Linked DNA regions of Homo sapiens: all the other regions are linked to region 4. Evidence: promoter capture Hi-C in human tissues and cell types (Jung and others, 2019). All regions are on one chromosome and are shown on one strand. The core of a region is centred on a gene start or on the middle of the fragment in contact, and the rest is flanking DNA. Distances in the headings are between cores, read along the strand shown. Region 1 has its middle 280 kb from the start of HAS2. Region 2 has its middle 360 kb from the start of LINC02855. Region 3 has its middle 430 kb from the start of SMILR. Region 4 holds the start of HAS2 (hyaluronan synthase 2). Region 5 has its middle 360 kb from the start of HAS2. Region 6 has its middle 250 kb from the start of LINC02855. Region 7 has its middle 420 kb from the start of LINC02855.

What was found. The method cuts DNA at HindIII sites, captures the fragments that hold promoters and counts their contacts. A contact is called where the count stands out against the background at its distance.
Region 1: a fragment that was not itself captured here is called in contact with the fragment with the promoter of HAS2 in region 4 in 1 of the 25 tissues and cell types used here (H1 embryonic stem cells).
Region 2: a fragment that was not itself captured here is called in contact with the fragment with the promoter of HAS2 in region 4 in 2 of the 25 tissues and cell types used here (H1 embryonic stem cells and IMR-90 fibroblasts).
Region 3: a fragment that was not itself captured here is called in contact with the fragment with the promoter of HAS2 in region 4 in 1 of the 25 tissues and cell types used here (H1 embryonic stem cells).
Region 5: a contact is called between a fragment that was not itself captured here and the fragment with the promoter of HAS2 in region 4, in 1 of the 25 tissues and cell types used here (dorsolateral prefrontal cortex).
Region 6: a contact is called between a fragment that was not itself captured here and the fragment with the promoter of HAS2 in region 4, in 2 of the 25 tissues and cell types used here (aorta and mesenchymal stem cells).
Region 7: a fragment that was not itself captured here is called in contact with the fragment with the promoter of HAS2 in region 4 in 1 of the 25 tissues and cell types used here (IMR-90 fibroblasts).

What each region holds. Positions count from the first base shown.
Region 1 is chr8:121,355,910-121,358,609 of GRCh38, reverse strand. No RefSeq gene overlaps it. Among named protein-coding and RNA genes, the nearest start is that of HAS2, 280 kb to the left of the region's middle. The HindIII fragment of the contact is 4,755 bases long and covers 1-2,700 here.
Region 2 is chr8:122,054,409-122,057,108 of GRCh38, reverse strand. No RefSeq gene overlaps it. Among named protein-coding and RNA genes, the nearest start is that of LINC02855, 360 kb to the right of the region's middle. The HindIII fragment of the contact is 6,115 bases long and covers 1-2,700 here.
Region 3 is chr8:122,135,676-122,138,375 of GRCh38, reverse strand. No RefSeq gene overlaps it. Among named protein-coding and RNA genes, the nearest start is that of SMILR, 430 kb to the left of the region's middle. The HindIII fragment of the contact is 3,663 bases long and covers 1-2,700 here.
Region 4 is chr8:121,640,144-121,642,843 of GRCh38, reverse strand. HAS2 (hyaluronan synthase 2) reads left to right here and starts at 1,404. Exons shown (of 4, transcript NM_005328.3): 1 at 1,404-1,991. It also overlaps HAS2-AS1. RefSeq lists an enhancer at 122-745. The HindIII fragment of the contact is 13,134 bases long and covers 1-2,700 here.
Region 5 is chr8:121,280,037-121,282,736 of GRCh38, reverse strand. No RefSeq gene overlaps it. Among named protein-coding and RNA genes, the nearest start is that of HAS2, 360 kb to the left of the region's middle. The HindIII fragment of the contact is 4,388 bases long and covers 1-2,700 here.
Region 6 is chr8:121,943,790-121,946,489 of GRCh38, reverse strand. No RefSeq gene overlaps it. Among named protein-coding and RNA genes, the nearest start is that of LINC02855, 250 kb to the right of the region's middle. The HindIII fragment of the contact is 5,685 bases long and covers 1-2,700 here.
Region 7 is chr8:122,119,148-122,121,847 of GRCh38, reverse strand. No RefSeq gene overlaps it. Among named protein-coding and RNA genes, the nearest start is that of LINC02855, 420 kb to the right of the region's middle. The HindIII fragment of the contact is 4,493 bases long and covers 1-2,700 here.

The DNA.
Region 1 (2,700 bases), core at 163-2,662, 280 kb after region 4:
GGGAAAACCTTTATGATGAGTTTTAAGTCCTCGGTATGTGCTTATATAACTCCCTAAACTCTGCATTTATCGTAGTTATCATTGGTATATTTATTTATTTGTTTGTTTGTTTTTTGAGACAGAGTCTTGCTCTATTGCCCAGGCTGGAATGCAGTGGTGCGATCTCTGCTCACTGCAACCTCCACCTCCCTGGTTCAAGAGATTTTCCTGCCTCAGCCTCCCGAGTAGCTGGAATTACAGGTGCACTCCACCATGCCTGGCTAATTTTTGTAATTTTAGTATAGATGGGGTTTCATCATATTGGTCAGGCTGGTCTCGAACTCCTGACCTAGGTGATCCACCTGCCTCAGCCTCCCAAAGTGCTGGGATGACAGGTGTGAGCCACCGCGTCCAGCCATCATTGGTACATTTATATATAGAATATTATGTATGTAATTATTTATGTAATATTTCTTACTATCCAGCCTATACGCTATTAGGAATGAGACTGTGTTTTACTGTTCATGGCTTTGTTCCTATAATTGAGCCCAGTGTCTATCACATAGCATACATTCAAGAAATGTTTGAAGATGGGAGAGAGAAAAGGAGGGAGAGAGAGAAAAAGAGAGGGAGGGAGGGAGAGAGGGAGGCAGGTAGGAAGGAAAGGAAAGGAGTCTGAATGGACTTTTCCTCCAAATAATAGGGTGCTTAGGGATGGAAGTTGGAGGTTTGGGGGGAGTAAAGGGGATAAAGGTCTTATCAACTATTTCTAGATGGAAAAAAATAAACCAACATATCTCCATCTTTGTGCAAAATGTTAGTTCTTTTCTTTTAGAATAGGTCATTCATATTTACAAAAGTTGGCCATGCTTTTAAAATTTTTTTAAATTTTAATTTTTATGTCTGGGATCTAATCTGCCTACTTGCACATCGCTTAGAAATGGGTTGTGGGCAGCCCTGGCTGAACAATAGCTGCTGGGATTTCTAAATGCACAGGCAAAAGGCTCTGGGGAAGTAAGAAGCATGAATTTTATTAACCTAGAGAAAGCGACACTAATATTATTAATTCCTTTTGCTTGTAAAATGGGAGGATATAAAGGTGGTAAAAATAGTTTTGCCGGTCTATCTTCAAACGGGTAACTGGGAGGCTGGTAGGAATTTTCAATCATAATATAACAAAATCTAGAAACAAAAAAGTTCCTTTTCATTTGCACAGAGGCTCTGTTGAAGCTGAAATACTTGTGGGATATTAGGAATGAAAAATGTCAGCATGCACACTGCCCAGGCTTGCCTGGTTTATGGCTCCCACCTCGTGGCCGTCATTACTGCCCAGAAAAAGAAACTCTTTGTCCCTGGAGCATTACTTTTCAAAGACAAGAAACATCCAGAAGCGTCCTCTCACTTTGACATATAGGTCATGGCATTCAGAGAATAATGTGAGGAATCACCAAGTGCCAGCTCCTTGAATCATTGGGAGATGAAGCTATTTAGTGTGGGTCCTGCTAAGCTTTTTTGCTCCTATGAATTTCCTTCCTTAATGGAAAGTCACTTTTTGAGTGAACAAGATTTGGATTCTTCAGTGGCTTGAAATGCAAGGCTTGTAAACAAATAAAAGGCCAAAAAGGGTGGTAGTTGGCAGGGGGAGAATATAGGAAATGAAGAGAGAGGGAAATGTCATTTAACATCTTAACCTAAAGCCTGTATTAGTGACCTGCGTGTGTGTGTGTGTGTTTTGCAATCCACAAGAGAAATACCAATCCTCTAATTCAAAGCTGAAATGATCCAGACTTTACAATGAGTGCATTTCCTCATTTTCTAGTAGATTGAGAGGCTTGTTGGATGGAGAAAGAACACCCACTAATTCCTACCCCAAACCCAAGAGAAAGACAAGACTGGCATGTGTATCCTGCCCTCTGTCAGGAATCCCCTTACATCTCCAGCCTCAAGTCAGGCCCAAGAGAGGAAAGATGAGTTTCTGGCACAGCTCTGGAAGCAGTGGTCTATTTCTTAGAGGTGAGGGTGCTGTAACCTCTGCTTTTTCAAAGCAAATCATTTTAAGCCCAACTTCGTGGTTTGTATTTATTAAAATAGTGGTACTGAAGGAGGACAATTGGTTCTTTTCCTGGATATCTTACATGAATTCCAGCCAAGTCATTTTGTTGAAGTCAGATCTAACCAGAGTTCCTGTGTACACTGTGCCTAAAATACACAGCAAACAAGAAAAGCAGATTGTTTTGCATGAGCTCAAGTCATGACTGACTCACATTGTCCGGCTTGAGGTGGCATGTACTTGTGACATGTGGTAGAGAATATGATCACCGTAAAACTTAAAAACTTTGAAATGAATTAAAGAGCTAATAAAGATACAGTGTTAGAACGAACAAGTGCACCCTAGGCACAAGCCCTGAACTGCACTGGGCATTTTTGTATGATTACCTTTAGACAGCCTCTTCTCCATGACTGAGCTTTTATGCCTTCTCTTTCCAAATATCTTGTTTTCTATGAGAAAGTAGAGACCAGGGTTTCCTTTCTGTTATCCTTCACATTACCTAACATATTAGCAAATATTGTGTACCGGCTACTGCTCTAAAATATTTAATGCCCCCTAAAACCTTATAAGGTGAAGTTCTTTGTTTAGTTTTATTTTTGATTGACAAACAATAATTGTGTATATTTATGGGGGACAAAGTGATATTTTAATACACATATACACCATGGAAA
Region 2 (2,700 bases), core at 101-2,600, 410 kb before region 4:
TTGATGGACATTTGGGTTGGTTCCAAGTCTTTGCTATTGTGAACAGTGCTGCAATAAACATACATGTGCATGTGTCTTTATAGTAGAATGATTTATAATCCTTTGGGTATATATGCAGTAGTGGGATTGCTGGGTCAAATGATATTTCTGAGTCCAGATCCTTGAGGAATTGCCACACTGTCTTCCATAATGGTTGAACTAATTTACACTCCCACCAACAGTGTAAAAGCATTCCTATTTCTCTACATCCTCTCCAGCATCTGTTGTTTCCTGACTTTTTAGTGATCACCATTCTAATTGGTGTGAGATGGTAACTCATTGTGGTTTTGATTTGCATTTCCCTAATGACTAGTGATGATGAGCTTTTTTCCATATGTTTGTTGGCCACATAAAATGTCTTCTTTTGAGAAGTATCTGTTCATATCCTTTGCCCACTTTTTGATGGGTTTTTTTTTTCTTGTAAATTTGCTTAATTTCCTTATAGATTCTGGATATTAGCCTTTTGTCAGATGGATAGATTGCAAAAATTTTCTCCCATTGTGTAGGCTGCCTTTTCACTTTGATGATAGTTTCTTTGTTGTGCAGAAGCTCTTTAGTTTAATTAGATCTCATTTGTCAATTTTGGCTTTTGTTGTCATAGCTTTTGGTGTTTTAGTCATGACGTTTTGCCCGTGCCTATGTCCTGAATGATATTGCCTGGGTTTTCTTCTAGGATAGGGGTTTTATGGTTTTAGGTCTTACGTTTAAGTCTTTAATCCATCTTGAGTTAATGTTTGTATAAGGTGTAAAGAAGGGGTCCAGTTTCAGTTTTCTGCTTTTGGCTAGCCAGTTTTCCCAACACCATTTATTAAATAGGGAATCCTTTCCCCATTGCTTGTTTTTGTCAGGTTTGTTAAACATCAGATGGTTGTAGATGTGTAGTGTTATTTCTGAGGTCTCTGTTCTGTTCCATTGGTCTATATATCTGTTTCGGTACCAGTACCATGCTGTTTTGGTTACTGTAGCCTTGTAGTGTAGCTGGAAGACAGGTAGCGTGATGCTCTAGCTTTGTTCTTTTTGCTTAGGATTGTCTTGGCTATATGGGCAGTTTTTTGGTTCCATATGAAATTTAAAGTAGTTTTTTTCTAATTGTGTGAAGAAAGTCAGTGGTAGCTTGATGGGAATAGCATTGAATCTATAAATTACTTTGGGTAGTATGGCCATTTTCATGATATTGATTTTTCCTATCCATGAGCATGGAATGTTTTTCCATTTGCTTGTGTCCTCTCTTATTTCCTTGAGCAGCAGTTTGTAGTTCTCCTTGAAGAGGTCCTTCACATCCCTTGTAAGTTGGATTCCTAGGTATTTTATTCTCTTTGTAGCAATTGTGAATGGGAATTCACTCATGATTTGGCTGTTTGTCTCTTATTGGGGTATAGGAATGCTTGTGACTTTTGCACATTGATTTTGTATCCTGAGACTGTGCTGAAGTTCCTTATCAGCTTAAGGAGATTTGAGCTGAGATGGTGGGGTTTTCTAAATATACAATCATGTCATCTGCAAACAGAGATAATTTGACTTCCTCTTTTCCTATTTGAATACCCTCTATTTATCTCTCTTACCGGATTGCCCTGGCCAGAACTTCGAATACTATGTTGAATAGGAGTGGTGAGAGACGGCATTCTTGTCTTGTGCCAGTTTTCAAAGGGAATGCTTCCAGTTTTTGCCCATTCCGTATTATATTGGCTGTGGGTTTCTCATAAGTAGCTCATATTATTTTGAGATATGTTCCATCAATACCTAGGTTATTGAGAGTTTTTGGCATGAAGGGGTGTTGAATTTTGTCGAAGGCCTTTTCTCATCTATTGAGATAATCATGTGGTTTTTGTCATTGGTTCCGTTTATGTGATGGATTAGATTTTTTGATCTACATATGTTGAACAAGCCTTGCATCCCAGAGATGAAGCTGACTTCATCGTGGTGGATCAGCTTCTTGATGTGCTGCTGGATTTGGTTTGCCAGTATTTTATTGAGGATTTTCGCATCGATATTCATTAGGGGATATTGGCCTGAAATTTTCTTTTTTTGTTGTGTCTCTGCCAGATTTTGGTATCAGGATGATTCTGGTCCCATAAAATTAGTTAGGGAGGAGGCCCTCTTTTTCTGTTGTTTGAAATAGTTTCAGAAGGAATTGTACCAGCTCCTCTTTGTGCCTCTGGAAGAATTCGGCTGTGAATCCATCAGTCCTGGGCTTTTTTTGGTTGGTAGGCTATTAATTACTGCCTCAATTTCAGAACTTGTTATTGGTCTATTCAGGGATTCGACTTCTTCCTGGTTTAATCTTGGGAGGATGTATGTGTCCAGGAATTTATCCATTTCTTCTAGATTTTCTAGTTTATTTGTGTAGAGGTGTTTATAGAATTCTCTGATGATAGTTTGTACTTCTGTGGGATCAGTGGTGATATCCCCTTTATCATTTTTTATTGCATCTATTTGATTCCTTTCTCTTTTCTTCTTTATTAGTCTGACTAGCAGTCTATTTCATTAATCTTTTCAAAAAAACAGCTCCTGGATTCATTGATTTTTTGAAGGGTTTACCATGTCTCTCCTTCAGTTCTGCTCTGATCTTAGTTATTTCTTGTCTTCTGCCAGCTTTTGAATTTGTTTGCTCTTGCTTCTCTAGTTCTTTTCATTGTGATGTTAGGGTGTCGATTTTAGATC
Region 3 (2,700 bases), core at 24-2,523, 500 kb before region 4:
GTAGACTGAGACTAAATATTTGCAAGATATCCATTCACTCCAAGTTAATTTATAAATGTAATATAATCCTATTTAAATTTCCAATGGGGTATTTGAGCGAAATGTTGCTGAATGGTATTCTAATTACTTTTAATTCAATAAAGGTAAAATAACATGATACAGGTAAAAGGTAAGGGAAGGTAAAATAACACGATACAATTGTGTATCATGTTATTTTCCCTGAGATAAGGCTTCAAATGTACACTACCAGCTTTCTTTTTTTTTTTAAGTACACCATCTTTATGATTTACTGAGTACTGTTCACAGGTTGTATTTTTTTCTGTAAAGCTTCAGGTAGTTTCTCCCAAATGGAAGTAATTGTTCTTCTATTTTTTGACCTCTTGGGAAATTTATCTGTGCCTTTCTTTCTGCATGCACTTCTTCCTATCAAGGTGATATTTCTGTGCATTTTACTTTCCAACTCTACTAAAAAGTCTATAATGTCAATGTCTCTCTCTGGCTGAGAGAGATTCTAATGAAGCTTTTATCATCTGTTCTCATCTGTTCCAAGTGCACTCCCGTCTCCTGGCATTTGCTTTTCTTGAAGATTGTCCTTCTGCAGTTCGCTTCCTGAAGTCCAGCTCTGCAAGAGACCTCCTGTTAGAACTTGTGCTTTCATCAAGAGCATAGAAGTCTTCCAAAAGCCCGTCCCCACAGAATGCTTTTCAGTTTACTTAAAATGCCGAAAGGCAGAGGTGTGGTTTTAGAACATTCCCCCAGCTCCCCTGCCTCGCAACTCTGCTCTATCCCGTTAAAGAGCTGGGTGTTCCAAGCAGGCAGAGCTTCCCCTACCCCACCCGCTGGTCACGGTGGGACAGGCATGTACAAATCTTGGATGTTATGCTTTGTGTCTCGCAGGGAGACAAGCCCAAATAATATCAATTTCCAGCAAGTCTCCTACTGCCATGAGGAAGCAGAGACTGGCAACTTGTTGCTTCTCCCAGATGATGCCAGAAATGTGTGTAGAGTGAGATGTCCCGGGGGTGCTCAGTGGGCTGGTGTGCACTCAGTGTGGTGAGGAACAACATGTGCCCAGGCCTTGGTGATGACTTCCTCCTCCCTGTGATGTTCTCATTTCATCAACTCCATTCTTCTGTGGCCTCCCGCGTTTGCTGGGCAATTACTCACAAGTGAATGCATCTAGGAGCTACTGGTATAGACAGGAAAATTATCCTAAAATCTGCTGATTTCACCAGGAAGGAAACTTAGCTACATTTTTAAAAGTTCACATATTCAAAATTGAATGTAAAAATTAAATTTTGTGAGTTTGTTAGAATTGAAGTTGAAACAGAAAAGTATAATGGCAAATTAAGTTCAAATGAGTTAGTCAACTAATACATTAATTCCTTTGTTCATTTAGTTAAGAAATATTTTTTGAGCCGACTCCATGTATAGGGTTACAGAGACCTCCTTATCTTATCTGTTGCAATATTTTGTAAGACAATGTCTGAGCCCTGGTGATATATAATTCATTATTATAGCTGGCTTTTTCTGTCTTATGTCAATATACAACCAATGCCACCATTTAAACTGAGAAATAGGGTCATAAGTGAGGCTTAACATTTTCTCTGGTGTTGTGAGACTTTCCTTATGTTGTTCAGTTTAACATATTTGTAGTGTGTCATTGAACTAAAAAAACCATACACACATTTTCTCAATAAATATTAACATAGTCTACCATGATGTCTAGGAGATCAGAGCAATTTTTACATGTTACTCAGGCCAACTACTTTAAAATTGTTTAATATCTAAGTCTCCCTCCCCACAAAGTTGATATCACGTTAAATACCATTATTTATACATTGATTCTGGGGACTAAAGCCAGGTTCATTTATTTCTGATCATCTTCCAATTCATGCAACATCATCCATCTATTACCTATATTACCCTGGATTCTTCACTAAGTGGTACAAGAGTTCCCTGAGGGTTTCTCATCAGTTTCCTACCTTTGAGTCTACAAAGAAGCATAATAATGACTATAAAATCGTACTAATTGCAGCATAACTCTAAAACATATTAAATGGAAGGGAGAAATTACACCAATATCAGCAGTGATAAAATTAACATTAACCAAATTTATCATTGTTGTTTGTTTTCAGACTAACACTACATTGAATACTTTATTATAGCATTATATTCAATCTTCATCATAATCTCTGTATTATGCAGGCATCGTTATTATCACTATTTTAAAGTTAAGAAAATTGGGGATTGGAGATTTTGAGTAACTTCCCCATGGTTACACATCTAGTGTCAAAGATGAAATTTGAATCTATCTGATTACATCTAACTCTGAAGCAATAGTTTTACATTGTATGTTGTATTGACTTCTCTATCCAGTGAGTCTCTTTGTTAAACTCTTCAATTTCCATAAAAGGATGTCAGCACTCCCAAATGTGTATGATCAAATATAAAAATGTACTGTAATTCCAAGATAAAAATTCACTAGAACATCAAACTGAGATAGGGATATAAAGTTCAGCTATTACCCTTTTTAAGAAAAGACAAAATAAAAGACTTTATTTTTATTTATTTATTTGTTATTTGGAGACAGAGTTTCGCTTGTCACCTAGGCTGGAGTGCAATGGTGCATATCTCTGCTCACTGCAACCCCTGCTTCCCAGGTTCAAGCGATTCTCCTGCCTCAGCCTCCAGAGTAGC
Region 4 (2,700 bases), core at 155-2,654:
GGGGGCGGAAACGCGCAGTACTTTGCAGGTCAGCCCCTGGGGACTGGGATGGCTGACTACCTGGTATTGCACTAAAATGCTTGACCCCTAATCACATCCCCCAACACTACACCTTGTGCGACGTGATGAAAGCATCATTTCCAGTTTATTCGACTTTTCTGTTTAGACTTATTCATTATAGCCCATATATGTGATAAGGACTAAGAACCCAGTCTTCAAGGTCCTGTCGAGTTCCAAAGAAGTCCACCCCTCAGAAGATCCTTGGAAGGGGAAGAAGGAAAAAAGAAAGAAAGAAAAATCTGTTTTACCCTATAACAATTTCAGCGCAATCTCCCAAGACCAAGTTGGTTAATTTGTAAAGTCACTCTCATTTTTTCCTCAACAGTGCCACCTACTGTCCATTTTCAGTCATCAGCAGGCTTGTTGGCAAGGTCCAAGAGAAAGAAAGGAGGCGGAGTGGTGGGGGGAGGAGTAACCAAAAAACGAACTCTACCCAGCCTTGGGGCATTGTGAAAACGACGAGGAAAGGCCATCTCCAAGCAAGACATATTTGTCCTCGTCAACTTTGCAGAAGGCTTGCAAAAAGCAAAAGCCAGTTAAGCCATTTCCTTCAAGATGGCTAAATATAAGTCCTCCAGAAAACAATTTTTATTATTTTATTTTTAATGCGCGCTGTTTGAGTATGTTTACGTTAGGGGACCAGATTGAGCAAAAATATACATATAATTACTTTTCTATGTTTTCCGCCCACCCACGGCAGAAACCTCTTTATGAGAAAGGCTTTGACACTTGACGTCAGCTCAGAAACTTTTGAGTTGGCGGGAAGAAAGGGTTAACAAGTGGTGGACCAGCGCGATCTTTTTAGAGTCCCAGCCGGCTGTCGAAGGCTCCAGGTACACACACACACGCACACACTTACACACACACACACACACGTGCACACACCCCTCCCAACTGTTCCTCCTTGGGTCGGTTACTTAGCTGAAGGGCACCATTTGGCTTTAAAACAAATTACTTCAGCGCCACAGGGAGTTTATCGCTTGGAGGGAACTTGTAACGCGGGAGTTCAGGGAAATCCAAGAGGCGAGGGCTCCCACCTCCGCCGCCAGAGGAAAGTAAGGAATCAGGTGGTGGCCCCCTATGTGTCTTGCATTTCTCTGCACACGTTAGCAATCAAGTTAATTGAATTCATTGGAGTTTAGAACCGGCCTGTAGCTCAGAGAAGGCTTTGAATGGCCAATTTCTCTCTCTCCCTCTCCCCCTCCCCGCCTCCCGCTCGCCCGCCCGCCCGCGCTCCCAGTTCCCTCCCCTCAGGGTTCCCCAGTCCACACCTCCCTCTCCACTTCCCTCACCCCCCCACTCCCTCCGCCGCCCTATTAAAACACCCACCAGCTCACTTGTTAAGACCCCCTTAAGTTGGAGGAGGCAGAAGGGCAACAACGGCGGGGAAGGAGAAGTCAAGACGTCTGGAAAGAATTACCCAGTCCTGGCTTCGAGCAGCCCATTGAACCAGAGACTTGAAACAGCCCCAGCCAAAGACTTTTCTCCCAATTCTGCGCTTCCTGGGTTCTGCTGAGTCTTCCACAGGCTTTTTTTTTTTTTTTTTTTTTTTTTAAGACGAAAAAGAGATTTTCTGTTATCGGGGGCAGAAAGACTGAAGCCCAAAAAAAAAAAAAAAAAAAAAAGAAAAGAAAAGAAAAAAGAAAAGTTAATTTATTTTTAAAGCATAATTTTTTTAAGAATTAGACTGAAGTGCAACGGAAACATAAAGAGAATATTAGTGAAATTATTTTTTAAAGTGGGGAAGAATCAAACATTTAAGACTCCCCTATCCTTTTTAAATGTTGTTTTTAAATTTCTTATTTTTTTTGGCCGGTCGTCTCAAATTCATCTGATCTCTTATTACCTCAATTTTGGAAACTGCCCGCCACCGACCCTCCGGGACCACACAGACAGGCTGAGGACGACTTTATGACCAAGAGCTGAACAAGGTACGTTACACTGGCGCGTTTTGGTGAAGGATGAAGGTCCTCCAACAGGCCAGGGAGAAGGAAGACATCCTTATAATTGTTTTAAAATTTTTAAGCCAGTTTCGATAGAAAAGTTGGAAGTTTAAAAATTTCCAACAGACTGAAGATCAGGGAATATTTCAGGTCACTGTCAGGCTTAGCAACATAGCCCTCTTTTCCCATTTCTGCGGCTCTCGCCAGAAATCCGCTGCCTTTCTGGGGACACAGGTAGCCTCTCTGCCTGGGAAAGGCTGCACGTCCTCAGATGTACTTTTCCATTTTGCATCTTCCGGAGCAGCAGAGGGGCTCCAGAGTTAGGAAACAAGAATTCCCAATGTAAGGAAAATGCATTCTGCACAGCCGCCCCACCCCTTCCCTTCTTTTTTTCCCACACACACACACACACACACACACTGTGGGGAGAAAAACTGGAATAGCCCAGCGCGTTTTACTTCTAAGTGAAAAAGTCGCTTCTTGCTGGGAATGCAAAGGGTTAAGCAATCTGGGCTTCCAGCTCCGACAAGCTGGGACCCTGGAGAAGGAGGGTCCTTCTCTACCTCCTCGCAGCTACCATCCCCTCTCGGCCACTCCCCCCTTTCCCGGGCCTCCCCTCCTTTGCACTTCCCGCACCCCATTAAAGTGTCAGGCTCGTCAGTCTGGGCTTACTCGGGCCAGGGGTCCCTGACGCAGG
Region 5 (2,700 bases), core at 199-2,698, 360 kb after region 4:
ACACTTCTTGTGCAATTGAAGTGTTCATACTTCTTTATTTTATGCATAACATTGAAAGCAGAGACCCACTAGCCACCTCTTAAACCATAAACTGTCATGTCAAAAAGATTCACTAAAGGCTATTTGCACATGTCATTTTAACTATCCTATAAACTAAAAGTGTGCATATGTGTGTGTGCATATGAAAAAGACTAAAGAGATCTTCCCAAAGTTGTCACTAAGAAAGATATTTGTTTAAAAGAACACTGTTATGTGAGGTTTATCCTTGAACATTTTTCTCTACATTATTGAAGTTACTTAATATCGTATCTGGAAATGGAAATATCTGAAAAGAAATGTCATTCATTGTGGAAGGCAAGAAGCAGAAATCTGAGATAAATATGCCTCTGTTAAACAGAAGCAGGCAAAATTACTGAGGGAAAGAAACCAGACATCCCCTGGTGCTCTTTCAGACAATAATTTATAAATGCCAATGCTATCATCAAATAAATAAGAAAATATACATTCAATTGAGTTATGCACATTAAATGGAAAAGGGAGAATGTGGTATAATTAAATTGTAAGAAAAAACACATCCTTTGGCATTTTAGTTCCCTGTTTTGATTAGTAAACTCTCCTTGGTAGATAAATGTTGAGGTGACCTCTATGATTCTTCTGGGCTCCTGAAGCTCCTTGATTCTAAGAAAAGAATCACTTAAATAGCTGGATACAACCGTGTAATAGGAGCTTTGAAAGTGATAGTGGGTAGAAATGCTTGCTGTAAGAATGATCAATTTTAGAAGACCTTGCTCCCTCAACTTCCCTCTTTGCCCTATAGGCTGTGTGTTCTATTTACCACCTGCTCCTGGCCATGCCCTTCAGTGGACTGCTTTGGTTTCTCTTGAAATGATTGTTATTGTTGGGAAACTTCTAATGTGATTACAAATAAAGACAACTTAGCAAGCTTTTGACGGCCACTTTTTTCCCTTTGGAAAGACTTATTCTAATTTATCTATATTTTAATGTTCCTCTACCACTATAGAATACTAGGTGCTTCATCCTTTCATTAATTACCATTCCGAGGAAGAAACAAAGTTATTTGAAAAAACAAAATCTTGTATAGAGGGACAATTACATCTTAGCGAAGAGCTTTCAAAAGTAGGATATAAGGAACTATGCTTCAAAGAGTCATAGAATAGGAGGAAGTCTCCCCTCCATTAATTTTGCACTTGATACAAAAATTTTCTAACAGACCACAAAGTCCACAAGGGCAGGAATTATGTCTGTATCATCACCAGTAGCATCATTCTTGGTAAAAAGTTGGCACTAAATACAATTTTCTTACATGAGTTAATGAATGAATGAATGACATGGAACCTGAAATTTTTTTTATAACACAATAGATTTAAAGAAATTGGTTTTGTAAAGAAATAGCTTTAATACATTTAAGTAATTGTTGGTTATCTATGTTGTGAATTAGCAAAAACTTTTTTTTTAACTCCATTTCTTTCATTGTTTCCAACTCTCAATTCGTCTGCTTCTAATTGGCATTTCTAAGAAAGAAAACACAAAGGCATACATGTTCTCAATATAATCTCCCACCAATCATGCTGCCTTGAAACTTTTTTCTGGAATACTTAAAGCAAACAATTACTAAAAGTATTATTCCATATTTCAAATATAACTACACGAGTTGCCACAATCAATACCTTTATTTTTCATAGTGTCAAAAAAGTTTTTGCTAACATGCTAACATTAATGCATGTGCACATGTTTATTTGTAGGAATATTCAAATGAACGTCATTGAGTGATGAAATTAATACACATTGGAATTAATGCTACTTTGGCTGATCCATATCAATCTTTCCCTAGTCACTGAATTTTGGTTTTAGCATTATCACTTTTGTTTGAAAAAAATTAAAATATTACTTTATTAGAAGAATTCTACTTCATAAACATTAGCTATAATACTGTGGTTAGTATCAGAGAAAATAATTTTTATGCTTTGTGGAAATCTGCAAACTATTAATTTAAGCAGATCTTAAGACTATTTATAAACCATTATAAATAAAATATATAAATATTATCAATAGATTTTATTTTTTCAGTGTACCATCTATTTTCATTTGTGGAAAAAAAAGGTCTGGTAATGTCGACATCTATTTTGGAGAATTTGAGGAAATACTAAAGTACGACACTGAGGTACAGAGAAAGTACCTCTCTAAAATCCAATTGCATTCTAGTATTTTTGCAACAAGGTTTATGTCTTTAAAACGAATTGGTGTATTATATTTATCATATATTGGCATATATTTATTACATATTTTCATATGTTATTTATTAGCAGATGGCATGTGTTATTTATGTTTCTTTTTTATTTTAAGAAATATTTGCTGGCTGTCTGGCATAGAAGCTCAATGATGTAAACCATAGACATAAAAGACTGCCTAGAAAGGCCAGGTACGGTGGCTCAAGCCTGTAATCCCAGCAATTTGGGAGGCTGAGGTGGGCAGATCACCTGAGGTCAAAAGTTCGAGACCACCCTGGCCAACATGATGAAACATTGTCTCTACTAAAAATACAAAAATTGGCTGGGCATGGTGGTGTGCACCTGTAATCCCAGCTACTAGGGAGGCTGAGGCAGGATAATTGCTTGAACTGGAGAGGTGGAGGTTGTAGTGAGCTGAGATTTTGCCACTGCACTCCAGCCTGGGCAACAG
Region 6 (2,700 bases), core at 127-2,626, 300 kb before region 4:
CTTTTAAATGAGCTTTTCTCTACATGCATATTAAATAGTTTCATCAAATAGTGGACTGGCTTTTTATTTGTCCTTGACCAAACTAGAAATTATTACTTACTTGGCAAAGGTTCATCTACTTCCTGGAAGAAGCTTAAAATCCTATATTTCATTTGCACTGGGTTTATATTGTGTTATTTATAAGAAGATATTCTGATGCCTTTGTTTCTTTTGTGTGTGTGTGTTTTGAGGGAAAAAAAGAATCCTTCATAGTTATTTCTTTCAAAGCTATTGTTTTCTCAAAAATTATTAATTTTTATTCTTTTTATTCTTAATGAATTTTTATTCTTTTATTCTTAAGTTATTGTATGGCAGTCTGAATAATAGATCCCCAAAGATAGCCATTCTAATCTCTGAAATCTGTAAATGCGTTATTTTATGTCACAAAAACAGCTTTACAAACATAGTTAATTTAAGGAGCTTCAGATTGGGAGAAAATCCCAGATTATCTGAGTGGACTGAATGTGATCACAAGGGTCTTTATAAGAGGAGGGCAGGAGGGTCAGAGTCAAAGATGAAGATACAGCAATGGATCAAAGGTTGGAGTGATGCAGGGTAATGGGTCAAGAAAAGCAGATAGCCTCTAGAAACTGGAATAGGCAAGAAAACAGATTCCTCCTGAACCCTTCAGGGGAAACAGTGACTTCTGATGATTTTAGCCTTGTACGACTCATTTAGGATTGTGACTTCCAGAAATGTAAAATAAATATGTTTTGGTAATTAAACCATGTACGTCATTAAATTTTTGGTAATTTATTAGAGCAGCAATAGAAAGCAATATATTAAAAAGAGGGTTTTTTTTCTTTGATTATTTCCAAAGTCAAAAAGCAGATAAAAAAGCCACAAAAATAAAATAAGTTATAAAAAAGCAGATGAAAACCCAAAAATGATATACCTTTGACATCAAAGTGGGCTCCTCATGTATTTACGTGTACATCATTTTGCCAAACAAGTGTACCTGAGCACTTGAGCTGGAGGAATCTTTTATTCCCACAAAGGGGAGGTAGATACCATAGTACATTCTGAAATGTGAGTGCTAAACATATTTGTATAATCTCCTGAGCATAAATAGATTGAGGATATATGTATATACATTTGCATATCTTTAATTTTTTATTGATTTTTAATTTTAATATTTTTAATTGATCTTGAGCTAATATACAAACTTACTTACTTTTATAACTAGATGAAAGATTATTTGAGGAAAGTATTTTTATGCCAAATAATTATTTGTTGACTAATAGATTTGGGAAAGTTTAATAGAACTTAAATAAATGATGTTAAGTGAAGTTGGTTTTGAGGGCTGTAGACAGGGCTATTCTTGAGGGGAAAAGACAGATAATTCTAAATTTTAAAAATGGTGTGCCCAAGAAAACATTTGAAGTCCATGTTTTTGAAGGTAAAAATGATTCTCTCCTCATCAGCTTTACTGGCTTTTTATAATAATGCTAAGTAAATTTAATCAAACAAAATACATTGGCTATATTACAATTAGCCTGGGTTGCCCTTGGGCACTTGTGAAAATGTGTTTGGAACCTTATATATCATGTAATGGCTCAATTTGTCTTGGCCATTGTCACAGACTGTCTTGGGCTCAAGAATTAAACCTCCCTGAATCTGGTTCAATAGATTTTGAAGACTCTTTCCCATTCTAAACACTGACTGATGCTATTATTTCATTTTAAATTACTCTATATCACAAATAGAAGGACAATTTTGAGGGCCAGATGTGGTGGTGCATGTCTGTAGTCCCAGCTACTCAGGAGGCTGAGGCAGGAGGACCTCTTGATCCCAAGAGTTCAAGGCTGCAGTGAGCTATGATCTCGCCACTACATTCTAGCTGGGTGTTGGAGGGAGACCCTGTCACTAAAAAGAACAATTTGAGGAGAAATTAACAAACTGTTGCTAATACACAGCCTTCCAAGGAAATCTTCCCTGACTACTCTAGGTTGGGTGACCCCCACCCCCCCGCCACCCACATGTTCCATTAACAACCTCAGCAAACCTCTGTTATCCCCATGTTGATATTTTATTCAAAATATCTTTTTATAGGCCTGTCTTTCTCTTTTGGATATAAATGCCTGATGGCATAGACCATGTCTAATTTGTTTTTGTTTATTATAGGCCCTCAATAAATATACAGTTGAACCTAAGTACACATTTATTAGCCACTTCCCCTTCCCTACTCCATTCCTTTGAGGTGCTTACAGGACTTCAAGTGAGAACATGCATACATCTTGTGAGGGTTATCAGATGTCCTCTCTTAGTCTAGCAAAATATCCAAAGCTCAAATCTTTCACTCATTCTCTTCACAGATGAAGACCTTTTCATAAAGCCTAATTTCTGCTGTTTTGGTTTCAAGTTCATCAAAACCCTTATACAATGATTTTATACACTATTTGCAATCTCTATAAATAAACATAAACAGTACATGCTTTTTTTTTTTTTTTTTTTTAAGACAGAATCTCACTCAGTCACCAGGCTGGAGCACAGTAGTGAGATCTAGGCTCACTGCAACCTCCACCTCTCAGATTCAAGCAATTCCCCCGCCTCAGCCTCCTGAGTAGCTGGGACTACAGGCTCGTCCCACCACGACCAGCTAATTTTTTATCTTTTAGTAGAGACAGGTTTTCACCATGTTGGCCAGGATGATCTTGATCT
Region 7 (2,700 bases), core at 120-2,619, 480 kb before region 4:
TACAAGACAGTACAGTGTTCAGGGCATTTATCAGCAATGATCTTGGCAGGAGCTGCTTTGCTTTAATCGTGTGTTGAGGAAAACAATCAGACATCACAAGCGGGAACAAGAATGGAAGAACAGAGGTAATTCAATTTCTATAGTGTTTTTTATTTTACTACCTTGCAAAGAACCTGGTATATAATAGACGCTTATTAAAGATTTTTTGAATAAATGACTAAGCTGGAACTCTGTAGTTCCAGTCTCTTTAAAAGATTAGCAAATATTTATCCAAAAAGGTCCAAACAGTAGATATTTTAGGCTTTGAGGATCATATTATCTCTATCATGTAGGGCAAAGACAGCCATAAAACACCGGTTTCTCATACAGTCATTCATAACAGAATTTCCATAAACTCCTACTTCTGTATCTGTTTAGTTTATAATATCAATGTCTGCATAATCTGCTTTCTCCCACTTTAGAGTGGATAAGCCATTCATACCCCTAGTTAAGCTTTGCCTCTTCCTCTCTTAGCGATTACTTTTTACATACGCAAGAATGCTGCCCTATCAACTGCCCCCCACCTTGTATCTCAATTTTATCTCTTGAATTAATCCTATCAGCATACACACACTGTTATTTCTCACATTTTATTACAAGGGAACTTCTCTTGATTTCACTTCCATCCTCCTGACATCATCTCAATTCTTCTGCTCTCTTTAAAGCCAAGTTCTTTTAAAGAATCATCCATATTGACAGTCTCCAGCTCCTCATTTCCTATTCTCTCCTAAATCCACCACTACAAACAGAATTTTGCCTTTCTTACTGCATCACAAAAAAATTACCCTTGTCAGTGTCACCAATGACTTCGATATTGCTGATGTAATTCTCACTCCTCACATGTTTATCTATCAAAATCATTTAACACTCCACCCTGAAACACTCCTTCCTTGGTGTCCAGGACATCACACTGTCCTTATTTATTTATTTTTTTTCCTACAGTGTTAGCTCTTAATTCTCAGTCTCTTCTCCTTTTCCTTTTTCATGCCTTAAAAGATGAGGTGAGACTTTAACAACTAAGTGCTCTGAAGCATTTCCTTACGCTTCTTAACTTGTCTTTCTTCATATACTTCCTTAATGATCTCATCAAATTTCACGTCTTTAGATAATATATATTTACTGAAAGCTTCCAAATGCATGTTTATAATGAGAACCTCTCTGTTATTCTTGAGACTTATATATTCAATATATAAACAATATCTCCACTCTTTTGTCTAATAGAATCTCATACTAAACTGAACTCCTGATTCCTTCTCATACCCATGCCACACCAAAAAAGAAAAATCCTTACTGTGTTCATCAAATTTATAACAAGTCCATCCTTTCACAAAACTTGGAGTCACATCATCTTTGACTTCTATCTTTGTCCAATATCTCATATCCAATCTATCCTTATTATTGCTTAAGTTTACATTCAAAAGAAATGCATAATGCAATCACTTTTTGTTACTTACAATGCTTCCACTTTGGCCACATCATCATTCTGTTTCACCTAGATTACTACAAATATTGCCCATGTAGAACACCTTCTTCTGTCCTTTCCCTATTCTGCCACAGTCTAATTTCAACAGAGGAGCTAAATTGATCTCTTTAAAATCTCTAATCTAAAACTCTATAATGCTTCTTTCTTTCTGTTGCTTAGAATAAAATCCAAAGTCATTACAATGTACTCCAAGCTCTATATGATCTGGCTCCTGTTAATGGCCAAATGATCATCTTTCTTAATACTTCCCTACTTTCTCAATCCATTCTAACCACATTTGATCTGCATACTCTTCCCAACTATTACATTTCAAATGTATATTTGAAATACTCTTCCCAACTATTCCCAACTCTTCCCATATTCCCAACTATTCCCATACTATTACATTTCATGCTATTTCATCCCATGCTATTACATTTCAACTCTTCCCATCTTCTCAACTATTCCCATACTCTTCCCAACTATTACATTTCAAATGTATACTATTACATTTCCCATGCTATTACATTTCAAACTCAGGGTCTTTATACTTGCAGCTTCCCTTGCCTTCAATTACGCACTTCCCCCGCCCAAGGAACACATACACATCTATATGACTCACTTTCTTATTTCAGGTGTTTGCTCAAATGATACTTTCTGATTAAGACTCTTCCTTATCACCGTATTTAAATTTGCAATCCAGGATCTAGAACTTTGCCAAAAACATAGGGAGTGATGAATTAATATTCATAATAAGTGAAAGAATATGTGCATGTTTGGAAGGAATCAATTAAATTGAACAGAATACTAGTCATGACATGATCTGACATTCCTCCTCCAAATATAGGCTTTTCCCTGTAACTTTTTTGTACTCTTAAGTTTTTAAAATTTTATTTTATTTTAGGATACATGGACATGTTTGTTACGTGAGATGTTGCATACTAGTAGAAATTGGGCATCTAGGGTACCCGTCACCCAAATAGTGAGCCTTGTACCCAAAAGGTTATTTTTCAACCCTCACCCCTTCCCACCCTCCTTCCTTTTGTAATCCCCAGTGTCTTTCAATCTATATGTTCATGCATATCCATTGTTTGCCTCCCACTTATAAGTGAGAACAACTAGTATTTTATGTTCTGTTTCTGAATCAGTCCATTTAGGGTAATAGCCTTCAGTTCCATGCATGTTGCTGCAAAGAACAT